Linked DNA regions of Homo sapiens: regions 2, 3, 4 and 5 are each linked to region 1. The links are contacts of gene promoters, found by promoter capture Hi-C in human tissues and cell types (Jung and others, 2019). All regions are on one chromosome and are shown on one strand. The core of a region is centred on a gene start or on the middle of the fragment in contact, and the rest is flanking DNA. Distances in the headings are between cores, read along the strand shown.

Evidence for each region. Contacts are between HindIII fragments. The study calls those that stand out against the background at their distance.
Region 2: a fragment that was not itself captured here is called in contact with the fragment with the promoter of ZNF521 in region 1 in 1 of the 25 tissues and cell types used here (dorsolateral prefrontal cortex).
Region 3: a contact is called between a fragment that was not itself captured here and the fragment with the promoter of ZNF521 in region 1, in 1 of the 25 tissues and cell types used here (aorta).
Region 4: a contact is called between a fragment that was not itself captured here and the fragment with the promoter of ZNF521 in region 1, in 1 of the 25 tissues and cell types used here (hippocampus).
Region 5: a fragment that was not itself captured here is called in contact with the fragment with the promoter of ZNF521 in region 1 in 1 of the 25 tissues and cell types used here (dorsolateral prefrontal cortex).

Annotation. Positions count from the first base shown.
Region 1 is chr18:25,350,634-25,353,756 of GRCh38, forward strand. It overlaps ZNF521 (zinc finger protein 521), which reads right to left and starts at 1,533. Exons shown (of 8, transcript NM_015461.3): 1 at 1,372-1,533; 2 at 274-314. The coding sequence starts at 313. RefSeq lists a silencer at 1,559-1,628. The HindIII fragment of the contact is 6,455 bases long and covers 1-2,531 here.
Region 2 is chr18:24,255,034-24,258,458 of GRCh38, forward strand. All of the region lies in intron 15 of OSBPL1A (oxysterol binding protein like 1A), which reads right to left. Among named protein-coding and RNA genes, the nearest start is that of MIR320C2, 65 kb to the right of the region's middle. The HindIII fragment of the contact is 5,578 bases long and covers 1-3,425 here.
Region 3 is chr18:27,188,597-27,191,910 of GRCh38, forward strand. No RefSeq gene overlaps it. Among named protein-coding and RNA genes, the nearest start is that of CHST9, 4.9 kb to the left of the region's middle. The HindIII fragment of the contact is 3,160 bases long and covers 1-3,050 here.
Region 4 is chr18:24,189,800-24,193,379 of GRCh38, forward strand. All of the region lies in intron 18 of OSBPL1A (oxysterol binding protein like 1A), which reads right to left. Among named protein-coding and RNA genes, the nearest start is that of CABYR, 53 kb to the left of the region's middle. RefSeq lists an enhancer at 206-500. The HindIII fragment of the contact is 4,946 bases long and covers 1-3,580 here.
Region 5 is chr18:24,282,929-24,286,374 of GRCh38, forward strand. All of the region lies in intron 14 of OSBPL1A (oxysterol binding protein like 1A), which reads right to left. Among named protein-coding and RNA genes, the nearest start is that of MIR320C2, 37 kb to the right of the region's middle. The HindIII fragment of the contact is 4,224 bases long and covers 1-3,446 here.

The DNA.
Region 1 (3,123 bases), core at 283-2,782:
CTCTCTTTTTTTTTTTCGGTTGTTGTTGTCTTTTCTCGCCCACTTTCTACCGCCGCCCCATTCGGGGATCCTCCTCCCGTCTTCGTCTCCCCCCACCCCGACACCTCACCCTCACTCCACCTAGGGGCTCAGCGGGGAGGGGAGCGCGCGCGCCCCCGCACTCACACTCACACTCACGCGCGCACACGCCTCGCAGCCACGCAGCCCTCGCTCCGCTACCCACAGTGACACTCGCGGATGGGGGAAAGCGGGGAGCAGGGGGTTCCTCCTTACCTTTGAGGGATCTCGGTTTCGCTTGCTTGCGGCGAGACATCCTAAAAGCAAACAGCTGAAGTTGTTTCAATTCAGCCCTGAAAGAAACTATACTTCCTCGTGGCCGCGCGCCCCTCGGGCCGCGGCGCCTCGCGCCCTCCGCTCGGCCTCCCTCGCGCCCTCGCTCCGCGCTCCGCTCCTCGCTCCGGCTCCGGCTCGCGCTCGCGCGCGGGGCTCGCGGCTGCCCGAGCTCCGCGCTCTGCACGACGGCGGCGGCGGCGGCGGCGGCTGCTGCACCAAACTTTCCCAGCCTTCGACCCCCACCCCCAATCTCCAAGAAAAAAAAAAAAAAAGGAAAAAGAAAAAAGGAAAGGAGGGAAAAAAAGCTAAAAAAAAAACCCCAAAGACAATGTTTGAAGAGCCGTCAGCTACACTAAAAAGAGAAAATCCGTTACTATTTCCACCTCAATCAAAATTCACATAGTTCATGCGAATAGAAAAAAACTAATAAAAAGAAAAGCGTCTGGGTGATTTTTTTTTTCTTTACCGCTTTTCCTTTTCAACAAATCCGCCCCCCCCCCCACCGGAAAAAAACAAATAACACTGATTTGTTTACAAAGCGAGTCGTGCTCTTTTGTAGTTGGGGGGACGAGGGGGGGAAATCGACCCTGCAAGGCGATGAAAAGGTCTTGGAAAGAAAAATCTCCCACCATCCGAGGCAGATGCGAACGGGCCACGAAAATAAGCAAAGGGAAAAAAATACTTTTTTTCTCCCTTCCCCCCACCCTTTTTTTCTTAACCCACACTAAAGTAATTTCTTTCAAAAAGAAAAAGCCAAAGCACCCGAGCCGACGGCCCCCAGGTGGTGTGCGGGGCTGCTTGTGTGCAGGGGGTGTGCGGGGCCCGGGCTCGGGGCGCCCCTCTCTGGGCGGGGGCGCGGCGCCGGCGGCTGGCGCTGGACCGGGGCTCTAAAGTCTACGGCTGCCTCGGCAGCGGCGGCGGCAGCAGCGGCGGCAGCGGCGGCGGCAGCGGCGGCGAGAGCAGGAGGAGGAGGAGGAGGAGAGCCGGGAGCAGGAGGAGGAGAAGGAGTGTGCTGTGTGCTCCCTCCTCATCACAAACCTGCAAGGTCTTGGACTGCGCTGTCGCTCCGGTAGTCCACATAATAATGGAAAATGGAAGCAAGGCCCCCAAAGCCATCAGGATGGCTCCAGAGGGGGCCCCTAACCCGCAGGGACTCGCTCTGTACGTAATCACTGAGGAAATCATTGTCAGCCTGCCTGCACTCACACACAGACAGAGGGGCATGATTAAAAGGCGAGAGCGCGGGGAGCGGGAGGGAGGAGGGGGCCCGCCAAGACCCGGACTGGAGGCGCCGGCCGCGGCGCGCGGATCCGGAGCCAGGCGGCGGCCGAGCGCCCCGAGCCCCGCCCGCCGCCGCCGCCGCCGCCGCCGCCTCCCACGCGCCGCGCGCCCCGCCCGCTCCTGCGCCGCCGCCCCTCGCGCCGCCCGCCCGGCCGCTCGCACACCCCGCGCCGCCGCCGTCGCCGCCGCCGCAGCTGCGTTATTAGAGCTCCACGGCGGATCTCGGGGCTCTTCTGCTCGCTTTTTTTCCTCTTCAGAAATTAAAGCAGAGGAGCATCTGAAAGTGGAAAGGTCCCCCTTCTGGTAGGATGGATGTAAAAGGAGGCAACAATTTGTTCTTGAGGGGGCAAAAAAAAAAAAAAAAAAAAAGAAAAAGAAAAAGAAAAAGAAAGGAGGGGGGAAATTCATTGCTTGGCTTTTGCATTGTCGGACTTTAAAAAAGTGTGTCTGCTGTTGTTGCCCGGACTCGGGAAATCTTTTTTATGGCAACCGCAGACCTGCCAAGTCTCTCTTACTTGGAATCTTTATAAAGGCAAGTTATTTGGACTTTTTTTTTATTTTCTCGTTTAGAGAAAGTCATTGATGCTGACGAATGTCATAATGTGATTCAAAAGAGACAGCTTTGAGTTCACTTTTTTAACATTCTCAAATTGACATAGATCTTTGTCCAGAAAATAAAGCTTTCTGTTGATTTTTTCTTTAAGCAAGAGGTAAGGAAATATGCACTTAAGAATATGTGTACAAGAAAATAGTTTCTAAAATAAATTGAAATGTCTGCAGGTCGGTGGGAATTTTTGTTTCTTTTCGCAGTTTTGTTTTCTAACTTTTCACCTGCTCCCATCGCAAAACAAGAAACCATCACCTGTTTCCTTCTTTTACCTTATCTTAAGGGAAAGGATGTTTTAGTATTATTATTGTTGTTGCTATTTATTGATTGGACACGCTTGTCAAGTTATAAATGCCTGAGAGGGCTACCAAGTAGAGCTTAGATTCACAAGTCTTGGTGGAAATTAAGAGATTCAGAATACGGTTAATTACACAAAACAGGCAGAATTTTGTACAAATACTATTGTTCTTAATCAGATTTTAAAAATTCTCCGTTCTGTAAAATTAAGGTACAGCTATCTATTAAGCCACCATGCAAAGACATCAAAGCTTTAAGGAAGTTGTATTTTTTCCAGTCTAACCTGTAAACTGCCTGGACCCTCATGTGGATAGCTGCAAATACAGTATGTTTTTTTTCAATATCTTCATTATAATTAAATGAGTTTTCAATCCATCTGCAGTAATTCCTAAAGTGAAATCATAGTTGTAGTCAAATTTAACTTTGCATGACTGTGAAATAAAGCAACTTTTGTTGCAGAATCTGTGTTGGTACATTAAGGATTCTAGATTTTATACATAACCTTATACATTCATTTTCACAGAAATCATTCAGAAAGGGAAAAATGTGTAAACACCAAGTTTTTACAAGACTTTCCTTTCGTGTGGTAGCCATATGTGTGCAGA
Region 2 (3,425 bases), core at 216-2,715, 1.1 Mb before region 1:
CAGAAATCCAAAGGATCATTAGTGGCTACTATGAGAAACTATGTGGCAATAAATTGGAAAATCTAGAGGAAATGGATAAATTCTTAAGACACATAAACCTACACCAAGATTGAACCATGAAGAAACTGAAAACCTGAATAGATCAATAACAAGTATCTAGATAAAAGCCATAACAAAAAGTCTCCCAGTAAAGAAAAGCCTGGGACCTGAAGGCTTCACTGCTGAATTCTACCAAACATTTAAAGGAGAACTAATATCAATCGTACTCAAACTATTCTACAAAATAGAGAAGGGAATACTTCCAAACTTATTGCATTACAGCCGTGAAAGGAAAATAAATCTTGGGGCCCCCAAATTACTAAACTAAGGGGAAAAGTCAAGCTGGGAACTGCTTAGGGCCAGCCTGCCTCCCACTCTATTCAAAGTGTCCCCTCTCCTCACTAAGATAAATGCATAATTGATTGTCTCCTTTGGAGAGGCTAATCACAAACTCAAAAGAATGAAACCATTTGTCTCTTATCTACCTATGACCTGGAAGCCTCTTCCCTCCTTCCAGTCTTCCCACCTTTCCAGACCGAACCAATGTTCATCTTACATATGTTGATTGATGTCTCAAGTCTCCCTAAAATGTATAAAACCAAACTGTGCTCTGACCACCTTCAGACACATGTTGTCAGAACTTCCTGAGGCACATCCTCAAATTTGTCAAAATAAACTTTCTAATTTTTTTTTTTTTTTTTTGAGATGGAGTCTCGCTCTCTCGCCCAGGCTGGAGTGCAGTGGTGCGCTCTCTGCTCACTGCAGCTTCTGCCTCCCAAGTAGTTGGGAGTGATTCCCCAACTCCCCAAGTAGTTGGGTTCAAGTGATTCTCCTGCCTCAGCCCCCCAAGTAGTTGGGATTACAGGCGTGCGCCACCACACCTGGCTGATTTTTGTATTTTTAGTAGAGACGGGGTTTTGCCATGTTGGCCAGGCTGGTCTCGAACTCCTAGCCTCAAGTGACCCGCCCGCCTCAGCCTCCCAAAGTGCTGAGATTACAGGCGTGAGCTACCATGCCTGGTAAAACTTTCTAAATTAACTGAGACCTGTCTCAGATTTTTGAATCCACATGTTGATATCAAAACCAAAGACACATCACAAAAAGAAAACTACAGGCCAATATTCATTCTCTGATGAATACTGATGCATAAATCCTTGACAAAATACTAGCAAACTGAATTCAACAATATGTTAAAAAGATCATTCATCATAAACAAGTGGGATTTATCCCAGGGATGGTACAACATATGCAAATCAACCAGTGTCATACATCATATCAACAGAGCTGATGAAAAAAACCATATGACCATTTCAACTGATGCTGAAAATGTATTTGATAAAATTCAACATCCCTTTATGACAAAAACCCTCAAAAAACTGGTATAAAAGGAACACACCTCAACATAATAAAAGCCATGAAAGACCCACAGCTAGTATCATACTAAATGAGGAAAAACTGAAAGACTTTCCTTTAAGATATGGAACACAACAAACGTTCACTTTCACCACTATTATACAACATGGTACTGTTAGTCCTAGCTAGAGCAATCAGACAATAGAAAGAAATAAAGGTATCCAAATTGGAAAGGAAGAAGTCAAATTATCCTTGTTTGCAGATGATATGAACTTTTGTTTGGAAAAACCTAGAGACTACACCAAAAAACTATTAGAGCTGATAAATTCAGTAAAGTTGCAGGATACAAGATCAACATACAAAAATCAGTAGCATTTCTACATGCCAAAAGTGAATATCTGAAAAAGAAACTTAAAAAGTAATCCCATTTACAATAGCCACACATAAAATTAAATACCTAGGAATTAAGTTAACCAAAGAAGTGAAAGATCTCTATGGTGAAAACTATAAAACGCTGATGAAAGAACTGAAGAGGATGCAAAAAAAAAAAAAAAAAAAAAAAAAAAGGAAAGATATTCCATGTTCATGGACTGGGAAAATGAGTACTGTTAAAATGTCCATACTATTCAAAGCAATCAACAGATTCAATGCTATCCCTATCAAAATGCCAGTGACAATCTTCACAGAAATAGAAAAAAACAATTTTAGAATTTATGTGGAACCACAGGGGACCCAAAATAGCCAAAAGTATCCTGAGCAAAAAGAACTAAACTGGAGGAATCATATTACCTGACTTCAAATTACAGTACAGAGCTACAGTAACCAAAACAGCATGGTACTGGCATAAAAACAGACACATAGACCAATGGAACGGAATACAGAACCCAGAAACACATCCTCACACTCACAGTGAACTAATTTTCAGTAAAGGTACCAAGAACATATATTGGAGAAAAGACAGTCTCTTCAATAAGTTGTACTGGAAAAACTGGATATCCATATGCAAAAGAAAGAAACTAGACCCCTATCTCTTGCCATATACAAAAATCAAATCAAGATGGATTAAGGACTTAAATCTAAGACCTCAGACTATGAAACTACTACAAGGAAACACTAGGGAAACTCTCCAGGACATTGGTCTGGGCAAATATTTCTTAGTAATACCCCACAAGCACAGACAACCAAAGAAAAAATGGACAAATGGAAACACATCAAGTTAAAAAGCTTCTGCACAGCAAAGGATACAATCAACAAAATGAAGAGACAACCCACAAAATTATAAAAAATATTTGCAAACTACCCATCTGACAAGGGATGAATATACAGAATATATAAGGAGCTCAAACAACTCCACAGGAAAAAAATCCAATAATGCTATTAAAACATGAGTCAAAGATTTGAACAGATATTTCTCAAAAGACATACAAATGGAAAACAGGCATATGAAAAGGCGCTCAACATCACTGATTAGAGAAATGCAAATCAAACTACGATGAGGTATCATCTCATCCCAGTTAAAATGGCTTATCTCCAAAAGACAGGCAGTAACAAATGCTGGCAAGGATGTGGAGAAAGGGGAACACTGTTGGTGAGAATGTAAATTAGTGCAACCACTATGAAGAACAGTTTGGAGGTTTCTCAAAAAACTAAACATAAAGCTACCCCATACGACCCAGCAATCCCACTGCTAGGTATATTCCCAAAAAAAGGAAAAGCAGTATACGGAAGAGATATCTGCACTCCCATGTTTGCTGTGGCACTGTTCACAATAGCCAAGATTTGGAAGCAACCTACGTGTCCATCAACAGATGGATAAAGAAAATGTGGTACTTAACACACAATGGAATACCATTCAGCCATAAAAAAAAGAACAAGATCCTATCATTTGCAACAACATGGATGGAACTGGATGTTGTCATTATGTTAAATGAAATAAGCCAGGCACAGAAAGACAAACATTGCATGTTCTCACTTATTTGTGGGAATTACAAATCAAAACAATTGAACACATGGAGATAGAGAGGAGAAGGCTA
Region 3 (3,314 bases), core at 221-2,720, 1.8 Mb after region 1:
AACCTTCTTATTTATGCCTCCAACTATTTTTTGAGGGAAAGCAGGGTTTTATTTATCTGGGAAGAGATATTTTTACACAAGTCAATAGAGGATAGTCCAGTAGCTACAGTAGTTTCCCTTTATCTTATCTTGCTTTTATTTTGCAGCATACGAGTAAAACTAGAAAAAAATGATAGAATGCGATTTATGTTGATTCCTGGTCAAGTGAACACAAGCCGGCCCACTGAACCAGAAGAAAAGAGTAATAGAACTCTTGAAAGAGAAGATAAAACCCACCGTATCCAGATATTGCTGGGAAGAAAAATAAAAACAACTATTAAAAATTTAAAATCACTTTTAGAAAGCTTCCTTGCATTAGTGCTATGAAATAGAAAGAGTCTTGGAGAACAGGATTTGTTCACGTTAAGTTGGGCAAGTCTTCTCTTCCTGGGCTCAGTTTCCTCATCTGCAGTGCATGAGGTCATTGAACTCCATAAGCCCTAAGGATCCTTCTGGTTTCAAAAATCCCATAACGTCTGATATAGAACACTTACCTTGACAAAGCTCTTCAAGTCATTTTCACCTTCACATATTGATTTATCTGTGTAGTGACATTTAAAGTGAATTCTAATCAGGAAATAAAAGGCTGATTTCTTCAGTAGAAGAAATTGACAATAAAAAAATGTGAATACAAGAGAGAAACAAAGGCCTGATTACCAGAAGTCGATCTATAGGATACAGAATGTGGCATTGTACAAAGTAGAAATTCCTTTCTAAAATTTAAGAAGAAATCATTGTAACATCAGGAATAAACAGGAAAAAGGAGAAAGCATTAAGATTTTCCAGTCAAGGAGAGATCTGGAAACATAATGATTTACCTCCTGCCATAGCAAGCATGGTATAGCAAATTTTATGATTTGGGGTTGATCAAAATTATTGTGTGACGAAGACATAATTAAAAAAAGATTTGACTCTGTCTCTAACCTTTTTTAAGGAAGGAATTATTTTCTTAAAAATCAAGAACAAATCAAGGACCAAATATCTATAACTAAAGCACAAATTAAGTGTTCAGAAGAATATTGGGGAGAAAAAGCAGAATGCAAAAGGAAAAATGCCTTATGGAAAGAGCATAGGATTAATAGTAAATGAGGAAGAACTATGACTCCTAAAGAATTATAAATTTTAAATTGTATGAAAAATAATATTGGTAAAACAGAAAAACTAAGAGATAATTGTAAGTAAATAAAAATGAAACAAGATGTGTTGCCATTATTATTATATATCAGCTGCCCCAGTAAAGCAATAATTCAAGGTCAAATAACTTAGAATGGTCAGCACCTAATAGTCTTGGTAAATAGAGCAGGTCAATAAATATATATTGATTGGTTGATTGAATAAGAAATGCTTGCAGTTATTTTAGGAAAATCAAAGTTGCTTGGGAAGTTATGCATGTAATTTCTTAAACTAAGCAAGTATAAATTTCCTTTTGAAACAATATAAAACAAAACCTTTCCTAACAGTTACCTCTAAATCCTAAACAATGAAATCTTTTATAAGATAATGTTTATATATAGCAAAACCTAAATTGGAAATAGATAAAATGTGGAAATATAAATGTGCTTCTGTAGAAAGAAATTATATTTTATATCTTTGATGGTTTTTGATAGGTGGTTGGAATAGGGAAAATTCTGTGTGAACAATTTACCAAAAAAATGCTATACTTTCCTCTAAACCAATATTTGGACATATAAATATTTTCCAACTGGGTTCAGTTTTTGATATGGCCAAAGATAATGATATGTTATTTCAAGACTGTAAGTCAAAATAAAATTGATTTGAAATGGTCTGAATTAATGAGATGCCTTCCATCCTGTAAGTTTCAACATTGTCATCTCAAGTGATAAGATAATGATGGACCGTTTCTTACCAAATATTTTATTAATTAACTCACGAAGCTTGGCCTGTTCAGTCAGTATAGACACTATGTTCCGGTGCCTTGGATGTGATTAGCAAGATGTGATTCCTTTAAATAATGAGCTCAAAACACATATTAAATTTAGAAGTGGTAAGCTTACAGGAAAAAGAAAGATCTGCTGGGAGTGAATAAAAGGAAAAAGAAAAAATGGCTTTGTGATTTCTATCAATGGTGTGCATGTGCGTGTGTGTGTGTGTGTGTGTGTGTGTGTGTGTACGTGTACTTGAAAGAGAGAGAGAATGCAGGCAACAGGCAAGCTGGTAAGAAATTTGATGAAATAGAGAATATGTCAATGATGTATCCTAAGAAAAAATATAGAATTTGAGGGCACAGAGTAATTCTAAATCCACCTCCAATCCCATGCAATGAAATATTTCCTCGTCCAGCACTGGGAGTACTTGTGATATACGGCTCACCTCACTAAATCTAATATCATTTCAGCCCAGAGGGACACAGAGCATGGTGACTGACTTAGCCTTTTTGAGGGAAGGGATTTTGTTGACTGTTCAAAATGTGTTGTCCTTAATGGGAGGATTTTTTTTCAAATAAAGGTAAATAATGATTTTTGAAGACTAATACCTGTGATGAAAAATTAGTGTAAAAGAAAATTTATACTCAGTAGCATCATAAAATAAGTATAATATTAGCAGTGTGCTACAAATATTATTTCTAATGTTAATACTTAAAGTGAGCTGATAATGAAACCAATTCAGCTTAGTATTATTAAGCTTATGCTTTTATTTAGCTAGTTATTTACATCTGAATCTATGTCTACATATAGCTATTCTAAATAACATTTGGATATTTGGTCTATTTAAAAGTCTTTTTCCCCTCTTGTAATAAAAATGTTTTTAAATTATCTCCTAATATTTAGAAAAGAAGGAAAGTATCTATTAGATATTTATATCTTGTACTTGTGAGGGGTAAAACAGTGGAACTTAGAACTTGAAAGACTGCCTTGTTTTAGAGGGAAAACAAAGATGCTATTTCTGGCTAATAATTGTGAATGTAACCTGAACCTTAATTACTAAGGTAAAAATAAACAAGTTCAAGATACAATCTCTTGCTAAAGTCTATTCTTCAATACATTTCTTAATACACATGGTAACATCTAAGAATAAAATTTCCAAGGAGGAATGTGTCCTAATGCAATTACCTTGGAAAGTTTTCATATTTCAGCTTATGGGAAATCATAGATTTAGGCATTTATGAATTAATTTTTGAATTAATTAAAATAGCTCAATGAAATGGCATCACTATTACACTGATAAGTCTCCGTTTCTTCTTCTCTCTATCTTGTTGCTTCATGTTCTATGTAGTAGCTAGCCATTGCTCTGGGCACTTTAATTCTTGATTTTCA
Region 4 (3,580 bases), core at 1,014-3,513, 1.2 Mb before region 1:
AGTTTGAAAAAGAGCCTGCTGCCCTCGTGCCTTCTGTCCTCAGTCCTCACAGGCCAGCCATGGGGGACAACAGGGGCCAGAGTGAAAGACACGCAGGCAGAAAGGAAGGCGCCACGGAGTGGGAAAAGGCGGTGTGTTCATCATGTGTTTACTGAACCACAGTGTGGGCACCTCAGTGCAACCAATGAGAAAACGTGGAGAAGAAGGTAAGAAAAGCTCTAAGGAAAATGCTAATGAACATAATGATATTCCTTTCCTATTCTTCCTGCTTAGGAGCTGAAGAGCTTCAGAGCTGAGAGGTGGCGTGAACCCTCCTGCTAGGGGACTTCATAAAGGCTGGACAACACCTACACAGGAATGTGGAGAAACAATGGAAGCATGGGCTGCAAGCTTGCCCTGGATCACTCGGCATTTGTGGCTTTAAGGGAATCTACTTCCACATGCATTTTTTCCTAGAAACTGGCAAGTCTCAGATGGCACCTGCACTGGAGGGACCGTGCTGCTCCTCTTTGCTCATTTCCCCATTCACAGTTGCCCTCTGCTACTGAAAAAAAAAAAAAAAAAAAAAAAAAAAAGTACTTAATCTCCTACCATGCTGAATCTTGGCATAGTATTTATACCTGGAAATGTGAAAACCTCCAGGGCACCAGAGAGGGAAGTTTAGATACAGTACTGTTACCAGCAAAGCCTCTTTTACTCAAGAACCATTAACTTACATTAGGGCTCCTTGACGTCCTGTTTCAGTTAAGAGAAAGACACGACATGAGAAATAGGGTCTTCAAGCCATTTCTCCCCAGGTTGAAACATTCTGATCTTAGACCACTGTAGAGTGTGGGGGTAGAGATACCAAATTTTGTTTAACTATCTTGCTCCTTCTATCCTCTGTCGCTCTAGTTGGTATTTATAACATGCCAGATTTGGCAAAGCTCCAAACCTTATCTAGCTCCGCATCTATCTTAGAGTTGGAATGCAAGAATAGCACTGTTGTCATGGTGGCATATAGGGTATCACATGTTTATCTGATTCCAGAAATAATATCTCATCCCTTCTGACAGTTACTCTGACCCAGTGATATGTCTGGGCATGAGGTCTGGCCCTATGGCTATGTAGCAGACATTCTGTACTGGAATGAATGAGCTAAACCTTCAGTTTGTGGGAAACATCTTAAGATTCATGGTGAGATAAAAGCATTTTATCAAAAACATACTGGCAAAGGTTTACTTCAGTGAAAATTATTCCAATTTTCTCAACCCTTTCTCAGTATTGCAAGGTACAACTGAGTGATAAAAACAGTTCAATGAATTGAGATCGGAGAGCTTGGGAAAAGCTTCTCTGGTGTATTTCCCAGAGGCCAAGAAGCCAATGACTAATGAAAGGTAACAAAACCTTGTGCAAGTTAGAGTTTTTCAAAGTTGTGTTTTTAGTAACACTGAAGGGAGTCCTAATTGAGTTGTTAGCTTATAAATCACACACACAAAAATTCTGTAATATAATCTGACTTTTGGCATCTAGTGGAGAAGGGGGTCAAAGAACTGAATGACATTACTGGACATTTTTTTAAAAACCCAAAAAACTCCTACTCCCATCTGTCTATTAATATGAGCAAAGCTCTCAATCCTGGCATCTATTCAAAAACAAGAACATAACTGTTACTGAAGATCCTGTCTCATTCTAGCAGCAAGTGATATTCATCTCAGATATCTAAAACCAATTGAAAAAAATTTTCACTCATAACATTTTACCTTTGTTAATATTTTCATAAATTTTATAATGTTTACAATTGTAATCAAATACTAACATTTATAACAATGCAAAGAAACCTTTAGTACTAAAGTCTTATAGAATATAGCTTTTTAAATTTTAATTTTTATACATATTTCTGCAGTAATGAAGTATGATGAAGTAATCGATAAAAGACCCTCAGAGATTAAAACAATTGAGTTAACTCGGTAAATGGAGCTAATGGAAGAGAGATGATAGCTGAAGGTATGCACATGGCTTCTGGAACTCAGTTTCACCCCTACAAAAAGGACACGAAGTTAACTGAGTTATCCTATAGGAAGGATAAAATGGAAATACAAATTAAAGGAGACATAGAAGTATAAGCTTTTCAATGACTGAAGAATAGCTTGCTCATGTATTTATTTAACAGAATGACAGTGGCAATCAAAACTCGATGGTATGTGGATTCCACTAGCTACCTTTAAAAGAATGATACAACACTTTTCTTTCACTTTAAGTAGTCGGTATTCCTGATGTACCAGACCTTTGTCACCTCTTGCAATAATCCAGGACTATTCTATTACTCCAAGACATTTGAACACACACAAGGGCAGCACGCACATGGCCTTGAGCTCAAGTACCTCCTCAAATTTTGTGCTGAGGTCCTGGGGCTGGTTGCCTAAGTCACTGAGCATGAACACCAACGACCTAACCTCTGGCTGAGCCCTGCTGAGAAAGCCACTGGAGCAAAGGGATGGAGGAGAAGAGGAGGACGGAAACAGGGTACACACAGGACATGAGGCTTTCGGATTAAAGAGTCCTGTGACAAAGGGGAAACAAGCAGAAAGAAATAAGCAAAGGCTTCAAATGACTAAGCAGTGTCAGGATTAGTTCTCAGGAGCCGGAGATTTGTTTGTTTGGTAAAAGCTTCAACCACAAACAGATTTAGGGTTGAATTCCAGTTAGGTAAAGTATTCATTTCACATTGTATAATCTGACATTTTGATAACATAATCCTGCTCAAAACAGACTGGGAGAAGAAAAGAAGGATGTCATCAGTATTGGAAATCAAAGTGGCTAAATGCTATTTGGAAAAAGGTAAAGTACAACGTGCAGGTGCATGGGAGTGGAGGAGATGGGGCAGAGTGAGCCCGGCTGGGGATGGGGCTGCAGACACGGGGGGCCAAGATGACAAATGCATGGAGAAGAACCTCTTCCTTTCCTTCCTAAGACAGAGTGAGACCTAGACCATATCTGGCAGATAAGAATATGTACTGTGAATTTAGAAAAGCCACATATTTTGAATAATAATAGCATTACACCATAAAATGATATCATCATAGCATACAAATCTGGGGCATTAATTGTTACGGAAAAAATGGGATGAGGACTCTGGTTGAGTGTGGAATTGTGGGGCTGTCACCCGCAGGATGCTTACACCCCGCACTCTGTCCTGGCACGCTCCTCACAACAACAGAGAGCAGGAAGAGCTAAGGCTCAGTATCAAATTTCCTCTTCCACTCTTAGGACTTATTAACAAATTAAGAAGCTGGGTAAATGGAGGTAAGGGAAGAGAGATGATAGCTGAAGGTATACACATGGCTTCTAGAACTCAGTTTCACCCCCACAAAAAGGACACGAAGTGAAGTATTTGGATTAATGTGATAGAATCAGAAACATGCAGGCTGGGCGCGGTGGCTCATGCCTGTAATCCCAGCACTTTTGGAAGCCAGGGTGGGTGGATCAACTGAGGTCATGAGTTCGAGACCAGTCTGGCCAACATGGTGAAACCCCATCTCTGCTAAAAGTACAAAAAATTAGCTGGGCATGGTGGCATGCACCTGTAGTCCCAGCTACT
Region 5 (3,446 bases), core at 283-2,782, 1.1 Mb before region 1:
CAAGACTTCATCTCTACAAAAAATTTAAAAATTAGCTGGGCATGGTGGTGTGCACCTGTAGTCTCAGCTACTTGGGAGGCTGAGGCAGGAGGACTGCTTGAGCCCAGGAGTTCAAGTTTTCTATACTACTGTTCAAGACCAGTATGGCCAACATGGTGAAACCCCATCTCTACTAAAAATACAAAAATTAGCTGGGCATGGTGGCTGGCGCCTGTAATCCCAGCTACTCGGGAGACTGAGGCAGGAGAATCACTTCAACCTGGGACGTGGAGGTTGCAGTAAGCGGAGATGGCACCACAGCACTCCAGCCTGGGAGACAGAGCAAGACTCCATCTCAAAAAAAAAAAAAAAAAATATATATATATATATATATATGTATATATATACACACACACACAGACACACACACACACACATATGGATATGAAGGCCAAATTATATTTTACCACAGTTTACATCTTACAAAATACATCTTACAGAATAGTTTTCTCTTGTTAGCTTCTTTAATAAAGCCCAACTAATTGAAAACTACCATATTCTAAAACAAATTTGACTTTACAGACTTTATTTTTCATTTTGAACCTCTGATACACATTGTGAAGATTTATTCTCTACTTAGTTGCTAAATAGCAAAAGAGACTACCATATGCTAGGTGCCATATGACTTAAATAGTGCCTGAACAGATGTCTCAACACGAACTGTGGACCGAGGACTGAGGAGATGTACCAGGAGAAACAGACACAGCCTATCCCTTCCATAAATTTTCTGAGTAATCTAGTAATTTTCCACTTTCAGGGCATAAATGGCAGGAAGATAGAAGCATAACCATTCATAGATATAGTTCTTTTATTAATACCATCATAAGCTTAATCATCCTGTTTTTGTCTGTTTTAGATATTTCATAAACTTTAGATACTTGTTACCATGAAGCAACATTAATGGTCCAAATACATGCTTAGGAATACTTACAAGTGTTTGAAAATACTGGTTCTGCAAGGTTTCAAAAAATATTCCAAATATATATATATGTGTGTGTATATATATATATAAAGAAGTTTTCATAAGAATCCACCATTGAGAGAGCGTCGAATTCTTTTGTCCAAAAGAGTCAAATGTTACTTCATTTCTTTGACAAGCTAATGTTAAAACAAGATTTTTGAAATGAACTTCCACAGCGGAACAGTTTAAGAATTGCCGAACCTTGCCGTATGCCACACTGCAGTGTAGCACATCAGGGTCCATTCAACTCACACTGGCATGCTTCTTATAGAATTATGTTTACATAATGTTACATAAAAAAAAAATTAAAATTGCTAAGCTTCTAGAAAAGTGACCAACTGGGAATCACTGCAAATACGTTTTAGCTGGTTAATATTTAGAGACTAAACTGTCATGAATAAACGCAAAAAGGCCAGTATGTTGCCTTATTTGGCCTGCTGTAAGAATCTGATGCTGTTGATTTTCAGGAAAAAAGTTATTTTTCGTACTAAAAACGTTTTTAAAGTCATGAAAGCTGTGAGAAGATCATATTGGAAAAGCTTAACTTTAGAGACATAAAAAGCTCACAATCTGTCATTTTTCATGATTACGCTGAACAATTTTTAATTGGGTAAGTTTTTAAAATAGTGGGAAAACACTTGTTTCTTTATGTGAACAAATTAATCCCTTGTACAGACAACCTCCACTGTTATCCTAGTGTAAAAAAAAAAAAGTCCACATTTCCTTAGCCTAACATTTAAGATGCTCAATAAACTAAATTTGTTTCAGCCAGATTGTTCTCCTGGAAATGTTTGTTTACCTAAAAACAGTCTTCAAAATATTGGTGAATATTGGATGTTGAATGCTGAATATTGACATGTTACTTGAATATTGGAAACAATAATTATCCATATTCAGAAGTTTCCCTACTTGACAAAAAAAACTATTTTCTTTCAAGGCCTAGTTCAAATGCCATCCTCCCCCAGGAAGCCTTCCTTAAATATCACTGTGGAGAATGGGTGCAGTGGCTCATGCCTGTAATGCCAACACTTTGGGAGGCCAAGGCAGGAGGATCACTTGAGTTCAAGGTTGCAATGAGCTATGACCACACCACTGCACTTCAGCCTGTGCGACAGAGAAAGACCCTGTCTCTAAAAACAACAACGACGACAAAATATCACCATGGGACATGACAGCAGCTGCTCCTGGACTCCAACAGCGGCCACACCCACTTGTTATAGGGGCATGAGGCATTGAATGTATGTTGTCTCTCTGTGACCCTCTGTAAACTCTAAACCTCCTTACCCCCATCCAAACACCAAGCTTTGCCAAAATAAAACCTCTCAAATATTTATTAAATGAATAAGGAAACTAATAAAATATCTTATTCCACATCTTGCTACCATAATTCTTTTAATATAAAATATAATCTGAATCCAAATGGCTTCACTTATTATATTTTACCTTAAAAGAATTATGGTCCTTTAGTTTAAAAATGTGAAATGAAAACTTTTTCATTTATATTACTATAGGTTGGTTGATTAGGGCAGATTGAGAAATAAGTAATTTTTAACTACATTTTGTTTTTTACTTGTGGCACAAGAAAATATATTTTGCCTGTTTTTCAACATTTAACTGAAATATTTCCATCATTTGGGACAAGTATTTAAAAGAAAAAAACTGGATGAAGGCATTTTATTTCCCCATCCTTACCCTTCTGGTAATGGTGCTACCTTGAATATGTATGTGGCTTTTTTTAATAATTAAACACAAACAGGAGAGAGACTAAATAGTCCAAAAACTACAAAATCTAGTGACAAAGCTAAAGATCAGAGAAAATACAGAAAATAACAAAATGGGATGATTTATCTTTTGTGGTGTAAAAAAATGCAATACATAATGACTATATACATGAAAGACCTGATCTAACCTAAATGATTGAAGTCCATTTTAAAATGGACTTTCAAGGCTGGGCGCGGTGGTTGATACCTGTAATCCCAGCACTTTGGGAGGCCGAGGCGTGCAGATCACCTGAGGTCAGGAATTCGAGACCAGCCTGGCTAACATGGTGAAACCCCATCTCCACTACAAATACAAAAATTAGCCGGCCATCATGGCGTGTGCCTGTAATCCCAGCTACCCAGGAGGCTGAGGCAAGAGAATCACTTGAACCCAGGAGGCAGAGGCTGCAGTGAGCCAAGATCGCGCCACTGCACTCCAGCCTGGGTGACAGAGCAAGACTCTGTCTCAAAAAATAAATAAACAAAATGGACTTTCATATCAGATTGGAATTATATAAATGCTTCAATGAAAATCAGTACTCTCTTTTCAAAACAGGGAAAAAATGTTTGCACATAAAAATCAACTAACCTTCTAAAAACTACTCCATAAAACTATAACTTGAAAAATATCAAAAGAGGTCATGCTGAAAGACATAAAAATAGAAATCTATTTTTTGTTCAAATTA